2 separate regions of the Homo sapiens genome follow, and region 1 is linked to region 2. Evidence: promoter capture Hi-C in 16 types of primary human blood cells and fetal thymus (Javierre and others, 2016). All regions are on one chromosome and are shown on one strand. Each heading gives the region's core, a stretch centred on a gene start or on the middle of the fragment in contact. The rest is flanking DNA. Distances are from core to core; before and after follow the strand shown.

Region 1 (3,342 bases), core at 751-3,250, 1.3 Mb after region 2:
TCTTTAGAAACAGATTTTGTCTATCAGGAGGGGCAATCAACCACTGAAGCATAGACAAAAAGCCTGACACCATCACACGTTTGAATGATAAAAATTACTTCCCGGCCAGGTGTGGTGGCTCACACCTGTAATCCCAGCACTTTGGGAGGGCAAGGTGGGTGGATCACAAGGTCAGGAGTTTGAGACCAGCCTGGCCAATATGGTGAAACCCTGTCTCTACTAAAAATACAAAAAAAATAGCCAGGCGTGGTGGCAGGCACCTGTAGTCCCAGCCACTCGGGAGGCTGAGGCAGGAGAATGGCGTGAACCCGGGAGGCGGAGCTTGCAGTGAGCCAAGATGCCACCACTGCACTCCAGCCTGGGCCACAGAGCAAGACTCCATCTCAAAAAAAAAAAAAAAAAGAAAAAGAAAAAAAAAATCTGCACTTGTACCCTCTAAATATATAACGGTATTTTAAAATTGAAAAAGAAAAAAAAATGCTTGCAAGCCGAAAAATAAAATAAAATATTCCAGGGCTGTTTCAGGTTGAGCATAGGGAGACAGGTCTACCCATGTTAGCCAACACATTAATTGGACAAACCCAAATGCTGTGCCCAGACTGGGCACCAAGGTTAGAAAATGTCTAATTTTTGAAGTCATTAAGTCAACACTGTTAGCATTCATGAAAAAGATATTGTTATTCACCATACTTCATATTTGGCTGGATGGGAGGCCATAATGTCTACCTAAAAAGTATTAGCTACTGAAAAGCACAGCAATGAAAGCCTTGAGGACTACAGGAGCTCAAAGCACACAAAAGTGGTAAAGGAAGGCATCATCTGGGGGCCACAAATATGTTCCCATAGAAAGGAATTCTTTTGGGAATTCACCACAGTTAGACATCTGTCTCTCAGCCTCACAAGATGAGGAACCAGGTCCTGTGATTATCCCAGAGCTGACTGGAAGGGGTATTGACTTTCACTAACCAAACTCACAAAAGCCTGATGTACCAAATGCCCAATGGCCAATTTATTCTGTTTCAATAACAACTAGGCATCATTTTCAAAGGGGCATATACTGACAACAGACTGCCCAGAAATTATCTCCCTATGTAGGAAAACTACAGAAGACAAGTTCTTAGACTTTTAATGCCCAATACAGTAGCCATTAATGACAGGTGCCTACTGAGCCTTGAAATGGAATAGTCCAAATTGAGATGTGCTATAAGCTTAAATTACACACCACATTTCAAAGCCATAAGACCAAAAACTATAAAATAGTCTAGTAATTTTATATTTATTATATATTGAAATGATGTTTGGTATTTTAGATATATTGAGTTAAATAAAAGTTAAATTCACCTGTTTGGTTTTTTACTTTTAAAATGTGAATTCCAGAAAATTTTTAATTACCTATGTGGCTCTCATATGTGGTTTGCATTCTATTTCATTTAGGCAGTGCATATCTTAGATGGAGCCATGGCCAGCCCAGAATCTGGGAGGGGCTGGGAACTATTTTTTTTTTTTTTTTTTTTTTTTTTTGAGACAGAGTCTTGCTCTGTTGCCCAGGCTGGAGTGCAGTAGTGCGATCTCAGCTCACTGCAACCTCTGTCTCCCGGGTTCAAGCGATTCTCCTGCCTCAGCCTCCCGGCTCCCGCCAGCACGCCCAGCTAATTCTTGTGTTTCTTTAGTAGAGACGGGGTTTCACCTTATTGACCAGGCTGGTCTCAAACTCCTGACCTTGTGATCCACCCACCTCGGCCTCCCAAAGTGCTGGGATTACAGGTGTGAGCCACCACGCCTGGCCAGGAACTGATTTTTATCATTCAAACGTGTGATGGCATCAGGCTTTTTTTCTATGCTTCAGTGGTTGATTGCCCCTCCTGATTGACAAAATCTGTTTCTAAAGATGTGAAGCTGTTCAAGTTTTAAAGTCTGGCTTGCTGACTGGGGATCTAATCTGGCTCTTTTTTTTTTTTTTTTTTTTTTTGAGACGGAGTCTCACTCTGTTGCCAGGCTGGAGTGCAGTGACACGATCTCGGCTCACTGCAAGCTCCACCTCTTGGGTTCAAGCTATTCTCCTGCCTCAGCCTCCCAAGTAGCTGGAATTACAGGTGCCTGCCACCGTGCCCGGCTAATTTTTGTGTTTTTTACTAGAGATGAGGTTTCACCGTGTTGGCCAGGCTGGTCTCGAACCCCTGACCTCAAGTGATCCACCCGCCTCGGCCTCCCAACGTGCTGGGATTACAGGCGTGAGCCACCGCACCCGGCCTCCTCTGGCTCTTTATTCTGATGCACTGTGTGTTGACTTGAATAGTTCAGGTCTGGAAGGGTGGGCCGTGCTATGGCCCTTTCATCCCCACCCACTGAGCAGCTATCCTGGCCTCTATGCCTTTGGCCTTCCAGTACTCTACCAGAATACCTGAATAGAAAGGCTGCTGCCAACCCAGCCTGGAGGCCAGCCTGGAAGGAGTGGGACCCTTATCACTTTCACTTCTTCCCATGTCCTCAGCTCCCAGTGTCTTAAACAAATGAAAGCTCCTCGCCAAGAACATCTTCATAGGGTAGAAAAAACAGAGAGGAGCTAAGCCTCAGGACAGGCTACAGCATGGAGCCCCTCCAGGAGGGAGGACCTGGGTGCTGCTGCCCTGTCCCCTGGCCCTCTGTGGACTGAACGCCCGCTGCATGACCGTGAGCCCAGGGCAACAGCTGCTTCAGACACATCAGAGATCAGAGGCGCCCTTTTCAAATGGAAGTTCCTGGCCTCATTCCCAGAGGTATGAGTCCTTAGTTTGGACTACAGCCTACAAATCCAAGCTTTTAACAGGCTCCCTGACTTAAAAGAACGAAGACCTACAGGAAAAATGAGGTTTTCACTCTGTATTATGCCAAAGAAAGATTATGAAAGCATTTATTGATAGGGATGAATGAAAGGGTTAAGGTCACAGCCAGATAGCCCTCCTATCCTGAAAAGGGGCCACCCAGCCTGTAGTTCTCCCAGAGTTTCATTGCAATGCCAAAACCGAGGAAGCACCTTGTAGACCCTGAAATGCAGCATTTTCTTGAGCGAAGGGTCCAGTGTTTTAAGTTTTCTCTTTGTTGACTCTTGACCTGTGAGCAAGTGTGAATATTAATCGCTGTTAAACAGGATTCAGGCCAGAGGAGTTTAGGAAACTGGTTGAATTAACATAAGTAGGTGTCTTTGCTGTAGTATAGCTTGAGACTTTTTTTTTTTTTCTTTGAGACGGAGTTTTGCTCTTGTTGTCCAGGCTGGAGTGCAATGGCGCAATCTCAGCTCACCGCAACCTCTACTTCCCAGGTTCAAGCAATTCTCCTGCCTCAACCTCCTGAGTAGCTGGGATT
Region 2 (3,389 bases), core at 725-3,224:
TGAGGCTTGAACTGGCGATAAGGGGTTTGGAAGTGAGCACCACTCTTGGGACCGCCTTTTCCGCTTCTGTGACAACCAGGTGTTGCTGAGGGAACGTTTAAAAATAAACACCCTTAAAAAATAAACGCCATCTTCAAAGAGAGTGTGCTAATGGCAAACAGCAAAGATATTTTTGAACCATTTCAATCAAGGTGGCTACACGCTCGTATGCGGGAACCTGCCTTTTGCTTCCTTGGGTTGCTAAGAACAAAATCAAGCATCTGACATCAGCATCTGTTTGACAGTCCCCCAAATGCCACCTCCTCTCCCGCCTGACCTGTCCTTGCCTTTTTTTTTTGAGATGGAGTCTCACTCTGTCACAGACTGGAGTGCAGTGGCACGATCTCCACTAACTGCAACTTCTGCCTCCCAGGTTCAAGCGATACTCCTGCCTCAGTCTCTTGAGTAGCTGGGATTACAGGCACTTGCCACCACGTCCTGCTAATTTTTCTATTTTTAGTAGAGACGGGGTTTCACCATGTTGGTCAGGCTGGTCTTGAACTCCTGACCTCATGATCTGCCCACCTCGGCCTCTCAAAGTGCTGGGATTACAGGTGTGAGCCATTGCACCCGGCCACGACCTGTCCTTGTCTAAATGTGCTAGTTCCCCTGTCCCTCTGTGCCCTTATGGCCGGTGGGAGGAGGGAGAAAGGAACTGGCAAGCTTGGATTGCCTGGAGATCTCCAACAGCCGAGGGACAGGGCCCAACTTCTCACCTGAGAGTCCCACCTGCAGGATGAGAGCAGAAGACAGCAACAGCCAGGAGATCCCAGACCTGGAAGAATATGCACATACACAACTTAGCGGCACTTGGGGTGGCTGCGTCCATGTAGAATCGGCTTCTGACGAGTTAACTAAAAAGGATAAAGGGGCCAGGCGCCATGGCTCACGCCTGTAATCCCAGCACTTTGGGAAGCCGAGGCGGAAAGATGGCCTGAGGTCAGGAGTTTGAGACCAGTCTGGCCAACATAGTGAAACCCCTTCTCTACTAAAAATAAAAAATAAATTTAAAAAATTGCTGGGCGTGGCGGCAGATGCCTGTGATCCCAGCTACTCTGGAGGCTTAGGCAGGAGAATCATTTGAACCTGGGAGACAGAGGTTGCAGTGAGCCGAGATTGTGCCATTGCACTCCAGCCTGGGCGACAAGAGCAAAATTCTGTCTCAAAAAAAAAAAAAAAAAAAAAAAAGACTAATACTTTAAAGAGGCAGGCTGGAAGATGGAAGAGCAGATGGGACGTGACCCACAGGAAGCCAGGCAGGGAGGAAAAACCCTCAGCTGTGCAGAAATCTGGTTTCTCTCAGCCTGCACTGGCACCTTCTTCAGTCTTCCTCACTCCCATTTAGAATCGGACAGCAGGGACCGCATCCCTGCTTAAAGTCAACAGTTCGAGGGCAGGGGCAGGTCTCCTTGTCTGTGAACAGGCAATATCTCTGAGATTAATTTACACGCAATGCCCACAGCCAGTGTGGTCTTGAGAGGACAAGACACCTGGCAGATGTACAGCCCAGGTGGGGAAGGTGAGGGCAGAGTGAGGTCCCCAGTCCTGTTGACCCTTCATGGGTCACAGAGGCAATGGGAGAAGGTCAAGCCATGGCAGCTGGGCTCACGGGGCATCCAAAAGGATCCTGCCCAAGAGGACACTTGGAGAGGAGGACAGGGGAGAGTGTGTGGAGGAGAGAGAACCTGCAGGGCTCCTGCTTGGGGGAGGTGCTGGAGCCAGAGGGTGCTGGGTGTTTGGGCCCAGGGAACCTCGCTCTCTACACCTTGCTTATCCTAAGAAAACTCAGAAAGGCATGAGGCGCCACCTCAGCAGAGCCAGGCAGGGCCAGGGAACCACGCACGGGGTGTGGATGTGCTCACCGGGTGGGTGTGCTCCAAGCAGCTGAGACCTAGAAGAGGAGCCTGTGACTTACCTCCGCCCACAAGCGAGCCACAGAGGGCTGGCTGCTCCCCGGGGCTTTTATAGGCCATTGGTAACCCCCGCGGCTCATTCCTTCTCTATATTTGGCAAGAGGATGAGTGGCCCCCCCAAGCCGAGAACCAGCTTCTTCCACACGTATCTTTGTCGTTGCCAAGGGAAAGGTATAATTAGAAATGAGCAGGATCCATCACCATTTTCCGACCGCAGAATGTCAGGAGCTTGGGATGCCTTTCTCTGAACTTGGGGCCGGTGCTCCCTCCCCTGATGGGATGGGATGGCCTCACTCCAGGAGGAGTTGCGGGGGCAGCCACCTCCGTTCTCAGGCGCTCATCACACCCTGAACGCGGCGTGAGCCCCTAGCTATTGGGCACCAAGGACTGAAGTCGGGTGGCTTACTTAGAAATCTCATCATATGGAAAAGTGAATAAGACTGAGAGTGAAAAGTTGAAATCCTTTTTGAATTTTGAGCAAGATTTTATCACAACCTTGGGTTGTGATTGCAAAACCTGTGCCAGGAATAATTAATAATAATAATAATTAATAGCAATAATTCCCCTCCCCCCTTGCCCTCTTCTCCCTTCTCCTCCTTCTACTCCTCTCCTTCTTTCTCTTATTTTCTCCTATGCAACGTTCTGTCTCATTAGTATCATTATTAACTTAATTCTTTCTTAAGCTCTAATAGGACCAGCCAGTTAAGTTAGTGACGTGGATCTATGCTGCCAGCTCGTATTCCCGGCGACAGCTGCCTGAGGACCTGTGGCTATTAAGACAGATTACCAATTAGGAAAGACCAGCTGCTGGCTGGGATGGGGTAGGGGGAACGGTGGTGGCCTGCAGAGAAAGGGCGGACAAGGGGGGGCTGTCTAACAAATGTGGTCATCTCTAAATCAGGAGTGGAAAAATAAAGCCTCAAGAGAAGAGTAAAGTATGTCGGACGCTTTTGCCCATTCTCGTTCTACTTTTTTTTTCTTGACAAATCTTTGGGAGGATGGCTGGGTGGGCACCCTGTGGTTGCTTATTCCAAATAGAACTGTTTGTCCATGTTTCCCATAGAAACCGCCCCTTCCGTACACAGCAGTACCAAGCCCCGAAGTGGAGGCCACTCCATGAGGTCTGCGTGGGACCGGGGAGGCAGGGCTGCGGTCTCAGGGCAAAGGCACGTGTATGAAACATCCTCTGTGCTCTGGCCCTTACACACAGTGCTTCGAGAAGACGCAGAGGAAACAGAAGACGCAGCCTTTACCCTTAAGGGTTTGAATTCTAGATGATGAGTCCTGTGGATGCTACAGACGCATTTACAAAATTGAGGTGATTTCACATTGAAGCAACAAGTTTATGAAGCGCCTGTTCCGTGAATGCCAGGCAAGGCCAGTGGCCGCCAATGGAGTCAGTTGGGCAGGGCTCACTCACCCCTTGCCTGTCCACCA

Evidence for each region. The method cuts DNA at HindIII sites, captures the fragments that hold promoters and counts their contacts. A CHiCAGO score of 5 or more calls a contact.
Region 1: a contact is called between a fragment that was not itself captured here and the fragment with the promoter of MYH3 in region 2, in 1 of 17 cell types (endothelial precursors). The highest score is 6.6, in endothelial precursors.

Annotation. Positions count from the first base shown.
Region 1 is chr17:11,946,279-11,949,620 of GRCh38, forward strand. All of the region lies in intron 67 of DNAH9 (dynein axonemal heavy chain 9), which reads left to right. Among named protein-coding and RNA genes, the nearest start is that of ZNF18, 50 kb to the right of the region's middle. RefSeq lists enhancers at 1,966-2,467, 2,468-2,967. The HindIII fragment of the contact is 1,588 bases long and covers 1,207-2,794 here.
Region 2 is chr17:10,655,335-10,658,723 of GRCh38, forward strand. It overlaps MYH3 (myosin heavy chain 3), which reads right to left and starts at 1,975. Exons shown (of 41, transcript NM_002470.4): 1 at 1,955-1,975; 2 at 756-814. The HindIII fragment of the contact is 3,770 bases long and covers 701-3,389 here.